Linked DNA regions of Homo sapiens: all the other regions are linked to region 2. Evidence: promoter capture Hi-C in 16 types of primary human blood cells and fetal thymus (Javierre and others, 2016). All regions are on one chromosome and are shown on one strand. The core of a region is centred on a gene start or on the middle of the fragment in contact, and the rest is flanking DNA. Distances in the headings are between cores, read along the strand shown.

Region 1 (4,276 bases), core at 1,777-4,276, 130 kb after region 2:
TCATAAGGAGAAGTTATTACTGAATCATGGGTCTTGTCTCCCAGAAATGGCAAGGAATGGCTTCTCACCGTTTTCACTTTCCCTTAACTCAGAGGAAAAAGATCTTTAGGTGGTTCTAAGTGTTAACTCCCCAAATTCAATTTGTGACTAAATTTACCCTCAAGGGTCCATTTGAATAAGAAAGAAGTGGGCTTAAAAGTAATTTGAGAGGACCTTGATTTCTGTGCTGTACAAATGGTGTGAATCAGGTGTGGGTGCTCTTGCAGTCATTCCCCTGCCCTGGAGGTTGCTTGCTCCTCATCCTGCTTAGTTCTGCATTGTCTCTCACTGCACTGACACTAGACATTAGTTGACAGAGCTGGTTATGATCCTATTAACAGAAGTGGGAAATACAGGGGGAAGAGCTGTGTGTGGGCGAGTGCCGTTTTGGATGTGTGACTTGAGGTAGAGACGCCCAAACAGTGGAAAATGAGAATCTGTAACTCAGCACAGAGGCCAGAGTTTGGTAGTTACTAGCATATCTTCCAAACCTATGGTAAGCATTTTTATTTAATCTTCGTAACCAATTGTTCATTATTTCCAAATTACAGATGAGGAAATGGCTGTACTGCCTCTTTTTATCCTCAGTATTCTCTTGGCTCCAGGTCCAGTTGATTCTACCTCAGGAATGTCTCTTCTGTTGCTTATTTCTTTTCATTGTCACTGCTTCCTTTCATGCCTGGACTAAAACTAAACTGCCTGCCTTCCTTGTTTGTCCATCCTTCAAATGGCCAACATGTTTACCCTGATTATGTCACACATACCCCCACCTGTCTGTTTCATCCACTTTCCCACTAGAGTGTTCTGTCCAGACCCCACGGTGTGGTTTTGCAAAGCAGCTGCAGTTCATACCCTCTCGCCTTCACCTGGCTTAGTTCCCCCCATGCTGCCGCATGGATTCACTCCACTCAGTCCTGTAGGGCCCAGCTGGCCACCGTGCCACTCTACTGCTCCTTCTCTTTCTCATCCATATGCTTCCTGTCCCCTTCAAGGCTTACAGGAAATGCCACCATCTCTGTGGCACTGTCCTCATTTCTCTAAGTTTTTCACATGACTTTGCTTTTGATAATGCATATTTCTGTGTCTTATGTGATGGCAAGTCATCAGTCAGCATGTCAGCAACGCCTCAGTTTTCTAAACACTTAAAAGCAGGGACTTCATCTTGTTCATCTCTCCATATACGCAGGAAGTATTTATCAAGAAACTGAGTGAATAAATAAGTATGAGTGAATAAAAATGAATGAAAGAGTGGTTTTGTTTAAGTGCCAGAAGTAATTTTCTTTTGAAGTCCTCTCTCCTGCCTGGATAACTTCACTAATTCAAGTATAATATTTACTATGACATAATAAAAAATCTGAACTCGTGTTGGAAATGTATATTGTGTGAGCATTTTAGAATTGCAAGACAATGTTTTTGTGTTTCCCAACATTGTTTTTATAGAACTAGTATATAAATAATGCTTAACTAATGGTAGTGAAACCATATACAGAAGTACATAGTTGCTTTCTTCTCTCTGCACAGGAGGGCTTATCGAGACAAATTGAAGTTTTGGACCCATTGTGTACTAGCAACATTGATTATGTTTACTATATTCTCATTTTTTGCTGAGCAGGTAAGTTTTATATATTTTATGTGGGTATTAAATGGTATTTCTTGGTATACTAGCATCTGAATGTTTTAGAAAATGATACACATTTACAATCAAAATTTTAACTTCTCTTATTGTCTTATAGCTCATATGTGAATATGTTAAATATGTTTCACAATATTCAGGCAGCAAATATAACAGTCTTTTATTCATTTCTCTTCTAAATCCATTACCAGTATTCTTTTTATCTGGAACTCAACAGATTAACTTGTAGATATCAGGCTAAAACCAAGTAGCTCTAAGTATTTATAACCAAAAAACCATCTAGAATCCTTATCTAATGTTAATTTTCTATGGGTCTCCAATTTTCTTCCTCTCTTTCACGCTTCCTTGAGTGAGCACAGTGTCTTCAGACATCCCACGGTTCCGTTGTGTTGTCCCACTCACACCAGTAGCTCCCATTTATCTTTCTTTCAATCGCTAGGAGTTCTCCCTCCTCTCTCCTCCTTCCTCCTCTCCTTGTCAGCCCCTCTACACCTGGGCTTTCCTCTGCATGCATGTACACACGCAGCCTCCTTGAGGTGAGTGTCCAGAAGTCGGAGGGAGATTTGTGAGGTAAAGAGAAAGGGATAAGAGAGTCCTCATTAGGCTATTCACATATCAAATACTCTGAAGAAAAAGGATTGAAGGAGGGGAATGGGCATCTTTACCAACCTGACTTGGGTGTGGCAAGTGACTTGGCCTCTGCCTCCAATCAAGGTGACTATTGAGTGGAGCTTTTCTAGCTGTCACTCAAATGAAACGTACACCAAGTTGACTTATACCAAGAAGGACAAGCACCTAAGTACTGAGAGCTTCAGGATAAATGAATGGGCTTCTTGCTGTAAATGGAAGGAAATTCAGGAAACAGAGACTGGGCAGGTGAACAGGACAGCAACTTAACCTTCATCTGCTTTCCAGGGATTGTACATCTTGTTCTTGATGTCTGTTACCATTGTTCCTGGCAGGTAAAAGTCTTATGAAAAATCTCAGAAAGGCTGTACCTGCTTTTAGAACAGGGTCCAGTGAGAAACCTTTGAGTCTGCTGTGCTGACCTAGGATGGGGAAGGAAAGGAGCCCTGACTCAAAGGAGCAGCCATTAATGGAAAGGAAGAGGAGTGTCAGTCTTTCCTCTATCTATACCAGTAGAGAATAGGGAACTAGAGAGGCAGTCTTTCCTCTATCTATACCAGTCTATCTATACCAGTAGAGAATAGGGAACTAGAGAGGCAGGAAGAGGGAAGGGAAGGGCAGGTTAAATCCCAACACTCTGCTCTCTACTGGAGTCAAACTCCTTCCTCCTGCCATACCTGCCACCTTCACAAACAAAGCAGCCAATGCTGCCTCTTCCTCCCCTCCCAAATTCCAGCTCATCATTCAAACCGTGGTGTCTTATGTTTGGGCAAAGCCCTGCCTCCTCCTACAGATGAAGGAATAAGCCATCATATCAACCCAGAGACAGTGTCTTATGGCTAAATAGAGCCAGTTTCCTTCAATAGAAAGACTTGACAAATGGACATCTTGAAAATAAATATGCTTTGGTAATAGCTGTGTAAAAATCTGTAGTTGTAGGTCTTAGAAAAATGAAGCATGGGCCGAAATAATTTTAATCCTCTTGGGTCTCTTTGTGGGCACATATCTAGGCATACTGTCCCTACAAAGCTAAACAAAACTAATATTTGTTTTTGTTTTGGAAGAGGAATGATGGAGATTTGTTTGTTGTCTTTTTAATGTATAAGATTGTGGAAATGATTAAGGTCATATGGCTCTTAGAAAGTTTGATGCACTTATATTCTTTCATCAACGTGAGAATTAAAATGTATTTTCTGTCTTTCATCATTTAGTTAATTGCACTTAAGCGGAAGATATTTCCCAGAAGGAGGATACACAAAGAAGCTAGTCCCAATCGAATCAGAGTATAGAAGATCTTCATTTGAAAACCATCTACCTCAGCATTTACTGAGCATTTTAAAACTCAGCTTCACAGAGATGTCTTTGTGATGTGATGCTTAGCAGTTTGGCCCGAAGAAGGAAAATATCCAGTACCATGCTGTTTTGTGGCATGAATATAGCCCACTGACCAGGAATTATTTAACCAACCCACTGAAAACTTGTGTGTTGAGCAGCTCTGAACTGATTTTACTTTTAAAGAATTTGCTCATGGACCTGTCATCCTTTTTATAAAAAGGCTCACTGACAAGAGACAGCTGTTAATTTCCCACAGCAATCATTGCAGACTAACTTTATTAGGAGAAGCCTATGCCAGCTGGGAGTGATTGCTAAGAGGCTCCAGTCTTTGCATTCCAAAGCCTTTTGCTAAAGTTTTGCACTTTTTTTTTTTCATTTCCCATTTTTAAGTAGTTACTAAGTTAACTAGTTATTCTTGCTTCTGAGTATAACGAATTGGGATGTCTAAACCTATTTTTATAGATGTTATTTAAATAATGCAGCAATATCACCTCTTATTGACAATACCTAAATTATGAGTTTTATTAATATTTAAGACTGTAAATGGTCTTAAACCACTAACTACTGAAGAGCTCAATGATTGACATCTGAAATGCTTTGTAATTATTGACTTCAGCCCCTAAGAATGCTATGATTTCACGT
Region 2 (4,306 bases), core at 833-3,332:
GCAAGATGATGGCACTTGGGCCTGAGATGTGCCATGAGAAACCAAGCCTAGGTTTCTTCCAAGCATAATACCAGATGGGAGGGCCAGGCGTGGTGGCTCACGCCTGTAATCCCAACACTCTGGGAGGCCAAAGCAAGGGGAATGCTTGAGCCCAGGAGTTTAAGACCAGCCTGGGCAATATAGTGAGACTTTGTCTCTACTGAAAATAAAAAATAATAACAATAAATGGAAAAAACCGAAAGGCCAGATGAGAACATCTTGATATACATAACATCTCCTTTCATAGGCAAAAACCACCATCATTACTGCAAATTTGCACTATTCTACCTATTGCTGTATTCCCTGCATCTTGTAAATGCTGGTTCCCTGGGAACACTGGCTCACACCTGTAATCCTAGCATTTTGGGAGGCCAAGGCAAGAGGATCACTTGAGGTCAGGAATTTGAGACCAGCCTGACCAACATAGTGAAACCCTGTCTCTACTAAAAATACAAAAAAATTAAGCCAGGTGTGGTGGTGCACGCCTGTAATCTCAGCTACTTGGGAGGCTGAGGCAGGAGAATCGCTTGAACCCGGGAGGCAGAGGTTGCGGTGAGCCGAGATTGTGTCACTGCACTCCAGCCTGGGCGACAGAACAAGACTCTGTCTCAAAAAAATAAAAAAAATTTTAAAAAATGCTAGTCCCCTCTTGCTCGATCTTTGTTTCCCCTTTCTCCACACTCCTCACCCCCACCCCCAAAAAAAGGAAAAAAACAAACAAACAAACAAAAAAACACAGAACATTGCTCACCAGACAGAATGGCTGCAGGGAAGAAGACGCCCTACATTTTCTATCATAGCAGTAACAAACCTTGGGTGTCACCAACCTTATCATCCGTTCACCAACCAATGCCTGTCCAGAGGGGTCACACTACTTAGATAAGGATGGATGGTTCTAACGTTTAAAGAATCCTGCCACTATGAGAAAGGCACTGAGCTGGAACCCACATAGGAGGATCAGACCACTGTCCCTGGCACTGAAGTGCCCCTCAGGAAGGTAGAGGCCAAAGCACAGGAAAAGTGAATGGGTAAAATAACACAAAAGATGTCACAAGTTGTTGACAAGTTGAGGACTTTGGGGTCACAGTGCCCAGAGGTGTCTGGTGCAGCTCCAGAGAATTTAAGCCAGACTCCCAGAGACCTGGGGGCAGCACAGTGTTGCTTTCTGCATGGCCGGGTGTGAATTCTGCTCCTACCATTAACTAGTGTGACATCAGTGTCACGTTGATGATATTTCATCAACTTTACACCACCGCTCGCTTGCGGGAATAATAAGCCCAAACATCCACTTCAAGGGATGTTGGGATGCAGAAGTGAAAATAGTGGCTGTTTAGCATATACCTGGATCTACCTCTTGTATAATATATGTCATCTATCAGAACCCATCTTGTTTCAATATCGCCTAAGAACGTCCTGCTGAGATTCTGTCCCATACCCAGAATGAAAGCTCTACCATCTATCCTGAACCTCTCCTTGCTGCCACCCTGTTCCATGCTCCGGGTACAGGCAGAAGTGCTCAGCGCCGCACCCGCTGCCTCCCTAAACATCCCAGGCTATCGGGAGCACCTCTCCTCCTGCTCCCACCTCTGCCTGACCACACGACGCCCCAAGCTGGGTCCGGACGCCTTCCCTCCCCGTCGGCAGCGCTCCCTGTGGTCCCTGTGCCTGCTCCTGGGGCCCTGACGCCCACCCTGCCACTCACCTGATATACGGGAGGAAGGGGTTGACGTGCCCGGAGAGCACGGCGACCACGTAGGAGATAATGAAGGCGGCTGACGACCAGGTCACCAAGAGGAAGGGGACGAAAGCCATTCCCCTCAGGAAGCACAGCATCGCGCCGCCGCCGCCGCCGACGGAGTGCTGCGCCCAGCGGGGCCGGGCGCCGGGTTGCTCCGGGCTGCCTGGAGGCGGCGGCCGGGCGCGTACACTCACGGACGGTGGGAGGGGAGGCTCCGCGACGGCCGGGGCAGGCCCAGCCCCGGAGGGAGGGGAAGCGCGAGGAGCGGAGCGAGGCTGCGGGCGGCGAGGCTGCCGGGCCAGAGTGGGTGGGGCGCGGGCTGCCCGGGCTTGTTGCGAAACGAGTGAAGTCACAAAGCGGCCCGGCAGGGTCGGAGGCGCCCGGCGAGCTCCAAGCGGACGCGACTACGGAGCCGCCGGAGGGGACGCGGGGTCGGGTTCCTTTCGCTTTTGGTTTGGACACTCGGCGGAGGCCGGGTTGGGCGCGGACGGGCGGCGTGGGGTCACTGGCGGGGACGCCCGCTCTGGCCTTCCCACTCTGGCCCTACCGCGCTGGCTCTTGCGCAACTCTGGAGAAAAGGATTTATTTCTCCCAACCCCTCCCTCCCGGGGGATTTCCGGAGTGCCGGGCCTCGCACCCCGAGGGCGCCCCCTCCGAGGTCCCGCCGCCGGCGCTTCGCAGCAGTGAGAGTGGCCACCGCGTGGTGACACCCATGCCATCCGGTCGCGCTGCTGCTGCGGGGGTCGGGCAGAAGTGTTCAATGAGGTTCGCCAGGTCACGGGGCGCAGATGTGGCTCCCACCTCAATGGTGAACACCCGAAAACCCAGACAGGGTGGGAACGGGTGGGGTGGAGAGTACGCGGGTGGGGTGCGGGGCAGGCGGGTGGGACTGCGCGCCCACGGAGCCGGGAGGCCCATTGTGCTGCTTTCCAGGAGAGCGCAACTGGAGAATATTTCCTGGAAATAAGATTTCCCAGGCCGGGCGCCGTGAATAGCCATCACTTTGGGAGGCATCCAAAAGCCATCACCCCTGGAATGCCACCACTTTGGGAGGCCGAGTTGGGAGGATCGCTTGAACCCAAGAACTAGAGATCAGCCTGGGTAACATAGCGAAACCCCTCTTCTACAAAAAAAAAAAAAAAAAATGAAAAAGAAAAAAAGCCGGTTCCAGTTACTCGGGAGACTGAGTTGGGATGATCACTTGAGCCTTGGGGGTCGAGGCTGCAGTGAGCCTTTATCACACCACTTCACTCGGCCTGGGTGACAGAGCAAGACCTTGTCTCAAAAAACAAACAAACAAAAAAAAAACAAAAAAAACTCCCCTCCAGGTTCTGGAGTAGCCCAGACTCGGAGCCTTGGCCTAAGATGATTAATAGTGACTTGATACATTTCAAGCCCTGTGAAAGGGATTTGTGTTCTGGAGGCACTTATAATATAAGCACATGATTTTGATAGTTTAGGGAGTCTGAGCCCAACATATGTGGCCAAAATTGTTGGGTCATTGGTGACCAAAGATAGGTTCCTTTCAGCCACAAACACATTTCATGGGCGCCATGCTAGGCTACAAAGATGAAATAGTAATAGTACCCTCAGGACGAGGACACTCATAGATCAAAATAACAAAATTAGGCCAGGCGTGGTGGCTCATGCCTGTAATCCTAGCACTTTGGGAGGCCAAGGTGGGTGGATCACCTGAGGTCAGGAGTTCGAGACCAGCCTGGCCAACATGGTGAAACCCCATCTCTACTAAAAATACAAAAAATTAGTCAGGCATCATGGCTCACGCCTGTAATCCCAGCTACTCAGGAGGCTGAGGCAGGAGAATCGCTTGAACCTGGGAAATGGAGGTTTTCTCAGTGAGCTGAGATCACACCACTGCATTTCAGCCTGGGTGAGAGAACGAGACTCTGTCTCAAAAATATAAATAAATAAAAACAAAATTATGTTATGTGGTTTATTAAATGGAAAGGAGAGGATTTTAAAAAGTAGAGACATGCCCAGAGCTGAGGGCCAGGGGCCTGGGCTCAGAGGAAGGACCACGGAGGTTTTCTGACAGATGACATCAGAGTTTTCAAAAGGAAGTAATTACTAACCAGGCAAAGAAAAATAAGATTAGCATTCCAGGCCCAGAAAACAACTGGAGGAAATGCATACACAGAGCTTGCTTCCCTGGGACTATGAAAGCACTTAAATAAGTGTGAGGCAGCAAATGGAGAGAGAAACAAAGAGGCAAAGTCACCAGAGTCCTGCTGAGAATCTTGGATTATTTTTGGTATTAAGGAGAAAGTAAGAACATGGGCAGACTAGTATTTCAAGAGATCACTGTGGCCGTGGAGTGAGTGCCCGCCATACAAAACAAAATAGAAAATTTAAAATAAGGCTTTTTAAAAACCACAAAAGCTGGCCAGGCATGGTAGCTCACAGTTCTGTAATCCCGGCGCTTTGGGAGGCCGAAGCCTGGACAATATAGTGAGACCCGCAACCATATCTACAAAAAATTTAAAAATTAGCTGGGTGTGGTGTTGCATA
Region 3 (3,782 bases), core at 226-2,725, 190 kb before region 2:
AGATAGGAATCATTATTTTGTGGAGTTGCTGTAAAGATTAAATAAAGGTGAATGAAAATACCTAGTATGTGTCTGTCACGTGGTTCAGAGATGTATAGAAATTATTTATTTCAGAGATGAGTAGGTCTTATTTTTGAGGTTTTAGAGATTTATGTTTAATGCCAGTAAATATTTTTTACTCCAGTTTTCTATTCTTAAGGTGTCTTAAAATAATTGTAGAATCAAGAACATTATATTTTTAAGAGATAGGAGAATGTTCCAGGTAATTAAAAGAAAGAATTCAGTGAAATTTTATAACCATGTAGATGTTTGGGTTCAACTTTTACATGCTTTAAAGTACAGATGAAAAATTTTATAGCAATTTCCTAGTCAATTTTTTAATACAGTTAAATATTATAACCAAATGATATAAATTGTTTTGTTTACCCCTTCATAAGAAGATTTTGAACTAACAAAGGAAAAAGCAAAGAGCAAGGAATTTTGACATGGTTCTCTTTAAGAATCTCTGTGATGGGGCAAGGATTCCTAAAAGCATCAGGATAGCCAAAGGGCTATCAATAGTGACTCTTACAAGAATTTGTCATTTCAGGATATGTCCAAGAAATATAAAAATCATCTCTAAGGCTAGTGTGTTCAAAAATTGTTGTCATATACTTAGAAAAATTGATGCATGAAGTGGGTGGGTTTTATTTAGGGATGGAAATTAAGGAGATGATTATGTTGGGCTTGGGTATATAAGAAATGGATTCTCTGGAATAAGGGCTTAACCAAAATATAAAAGTTGTCTGATGAAATTACCCAGTAGGGCTGGGCGCAGTGGCTCATGCCTGTAATCCCAACACTTCGGGAGGCCGAGGTGGGCGGATCACTTGAGGTCAGGAGTTCAAAACCAGCCTGGCCAACATGTTGAAAACCCACCTCTACTAAAAATACAAAAACAAAATTAGCAGGACGTGATGGCACGTGCCTATGATCCCAGCTACTTGGGAGGCTGAGCCATGAGAATCGCTTGAACCCTGGAGGCAGAGGTGGTGGTGAGCCAAGATTACACCACTGCACTTTAGCCTGGGTGACAGAGCAAGACTCCATCTCAAAAAAAAAAAAAAAATACCCAATAGAACTTCTATCTTTTAGTAGGGGAAGCTGTTTTGGGAAAAGATAACTCATGATGATTGTATACTGTTATGCCAAAAAGAGGCAGGAAGTGTTATCCTCAGAAGAAAATAGTGATTCCATTTGTGGATTAATATAGTGACTGTAAGATAAGACATTCTCAAGAAATGAGAGGGTTGCCTTTACCTGTTAGTTTCAGGAGTGAAATGTACTTTATCCTATGTAAGCATTGAGAACTCTAACCTCTTTTTCTTTTTTTAGATCTTAAAAGTAGGCTACAGGACCATGTTCCAACTTATACTTTGTTGTTAAACTTTATTGTGTTTAATTATTTTAAAATCGTATAATGTTGTTTTTTTCTTAGTAAACTTTGTTCTTCGAAATATGTTTATATTACACTAAGACAGGAGGAAGTATTTATGAGGAATTAGTTATTGGTCATCACTTCTAATTCCTGATGATAATATGAGATATTTCACATTGTGTGTATGTCCCAGTTTTAGTTTTTCCATGTTTGTTTATAAATATGTCTAAGATGGTTTTTCTTCTGTTGAAATTTAAGTTTTCCTCAGGATTGCTTCACTTAAAACATCAAAGAGAAAAAAGTTGTACTTATGTTCTAAAACTTGTATTATTTAGGACTATTGAAGCAAACAAAAGTCAGGATATCACAAATCTGCAAGATGTCAGAGCTAAATCCTACATTTTCAGAATGATGATGGGATCATAAGTCCCATTTCATTTTTATGATTTGGCTTCTACGTTATGAATATTTCAATATCTCTCCCATGCCAAAACACAAAATCACACACCCATGCACTCCAATTTGTTTCTTACTTTGGTAATTTGTGACTACATATTGACACTGACCTAGAAATGTTTCTGTTGCTGTTTTAAATCTCATGTCAGTGGAGAAGAAATTGAAATCTGGTTTGCACATTTGTGTCTGGTTTTCTGTAATTGTCTAAAATCTGACATTGTCCCAGAAACGCTGATTGGGAAGTTATGAGGCAGTATTGTGCCCAAGACTGATTTTAATAGTTTTTAGGAGAGAAAAAGTTCTCACTCTACACTATTTTCCATGTTTTTCTATACCTCAAAAAGTTAAACTCAGTTTAACCCAACTTTATACCATACAAGTAATAATAGCCTTAGCTCTGAGCCTAAATAAAATTTGCCAAATAAAAATGATAATTATGATCCATTTCCACATACTCCTCATGAGAGCTTGGTCAAGTCCTCAGAAGCAGCATTGTGTTCCAATATATCTTTATCAAACAGTGTGCTCAGCAACAAGGACAGGAGAGAACACTCAGTTTCTTTAATTTTAACACCTTGTTGATTCAAAAACATTTAACAGGCATTTGAAAAGAATTTCAAAACAATTAACATTTGTTTCTAATACATTTAAAAAATAATGCCTTTTAAAATGTGGGTAGAACTTTTTTTATTAACATGGCTTTAATTTATAGCAACCATTTGTTACCTAATCACAGTAACACAACAAAATAATTAGTGTATCAGCTTTGAAGATCTCATTTCACAAAAGCTAAAAAACACGTTATGATATATCCATTACTCAAACTCATAAGCCCTTTTGCATGCATTGGGCATAGATTTCATGGAAAATCAAAAGCATTTAGTCTACTTTCTGACATTTTCATCTGTTCTTTGAACTACCTTAATAAAAAAAAATTGTTGCCCTTATGTAGGGTCAAGTGACGTTTGTCTGTCTGAAAATTTCCTTGGATCAGCTTATTTCTGTGTAACTTATGTCTTTGTTATACAGCTATTTGCCTTTTTAACTGATTTTTAACAGGATACTTTACCTTGGGACTTGTAACACTTAATGTAAGCTTATAAAATCCACATGAACAATAGTAAGTAATGGGGAGACTACCAGGTTTCTCAGCCTTTACAAACAATTTGATTTAAAGATTTATGAAATACTGATTTCTACCAACTGCATTTATAATGCTGTAATGAGTTAAGTTTCTATTTCTATGTAGTAAAAGACAATAAATGCTGCTGGTATCTGTGCTTCTAATGGTGGTTGAACATAAAACTTTGATCTTACAAACACAGCTGTTGTCCTATAATTGAGCCAAATTCAGACAGGATTAAACCCTGGCCAAAACTAAGGTTAATCTTTGCAACCATCTCAAGTAAGAGCTTGCTAATACTGTTTTAGGAAATCTTTGTTTTTGAGACAGCGTAAAAGGAAGGAAGTTCCAGACAACTGACCTCTAAAGTAAGCCAGACGCAACTAATGATAAATTATACCATAGTGATAAAGAAGATGGAAAGGTGGAAACCGTCTAACCAAATAAGTTCATTTGGTTCATTTTTACTTAGAAAGTCACTTCTTAACTGTAATAGTCTTAGTTAACATTAAGTTTAAATCAGACCAATATAAGTTACTTTTTAATGAACTTCTTTCTACCATCTTAATGTATCTTTGGTTAATTGCTAGTACTTTCTTTCACTAATACTAAAACTAGGTGTTTATTACAAATAGAATAACTTGATTTATTTTATTGTAATTGTGTAATAGCTCGTTTTGGTTTCCAGCCTACAAAAAAAAAATTTTTTTTCATTAAGTATTAGACTTTCTGGAATTTTAAATACTTTGCCAAATGTTTTGTAGGGCTGATTCTCCTGAGATTTGG

Evidence for each region. Contacts are between HindIII fragments. The CHiCAGO score rates a contact against its expected background, and 5 or more counts as called.
Region 1: a contact is called between a fragment that was not itself captured here and the fragment with the promoter of DRAM1 in region 2, in 1 of 17 cell types (neutrophils). The highest score is 6.2, in neutrophils.
Region 3: a contact is called between a fragment that was not itself captured here and the fragment with the promoter of DRAM1 in region 2, in 1 of 17 cell types (neutrophils). The highest score is 5.7, in neutrophils.

What each region holds. Positions count from the first base shown.
Region 1 is chr12:101,746,476-101,750,751 of GRCh38, reverse strand. It overlaps GNPTAB (N-acetylglucosamine-1-phosphate transferase subunits alpha and beta), which reads left to right. Exons shown (of 21, transcript NM_024312.5): 20 at 1,561-1,651; 21 at 3,511-4,276. The coding sequence ends at 3,588. Among named protein-coding and RNA genes, the nearest start is that of SYCP3, 9.2 kb to the right of the region's middle. The HindIII fragment of the contact is 9,825 bases long and covers 1-4,276 here.
Region 2 is chr12:101,875,356-101,879,661 of GRCh38, reverse strand. It overlaps DRAM1 (DNA damage regulated autophagy modulator 1), which reads right to left and starts at 2,082. Exons shown (of 7, transcript NM_018370.3): 1 at 1,742-2,082. The coding sequence starts at 1,872. RefSeq lists enhancers at 1,196-1,245, 1,386-1,475, 1,114-1,895, 2,056-2,105, 1,896-2,678 and silencers at 1,696-2,035, 2,286-2,445. The HindIII fragment of the contact is 18,310 bases long and covers 1-4,306 here.
Region 3 is chr12:102,069,381-102,073,162 of GRCh38, reverse strand. It overlaps NUP37 (nucleoporin 37), which reads left to right. Exons shown (of 10, transcript NM_024057.4): 10 at 1-60. Among named protein-coding and RNA genes, the nearest start is that of WASHC3, 9.3 kb to the right of the region's middle. The HindIII fragment of the contact is 2,992 bases long and covers 1-2,971 here.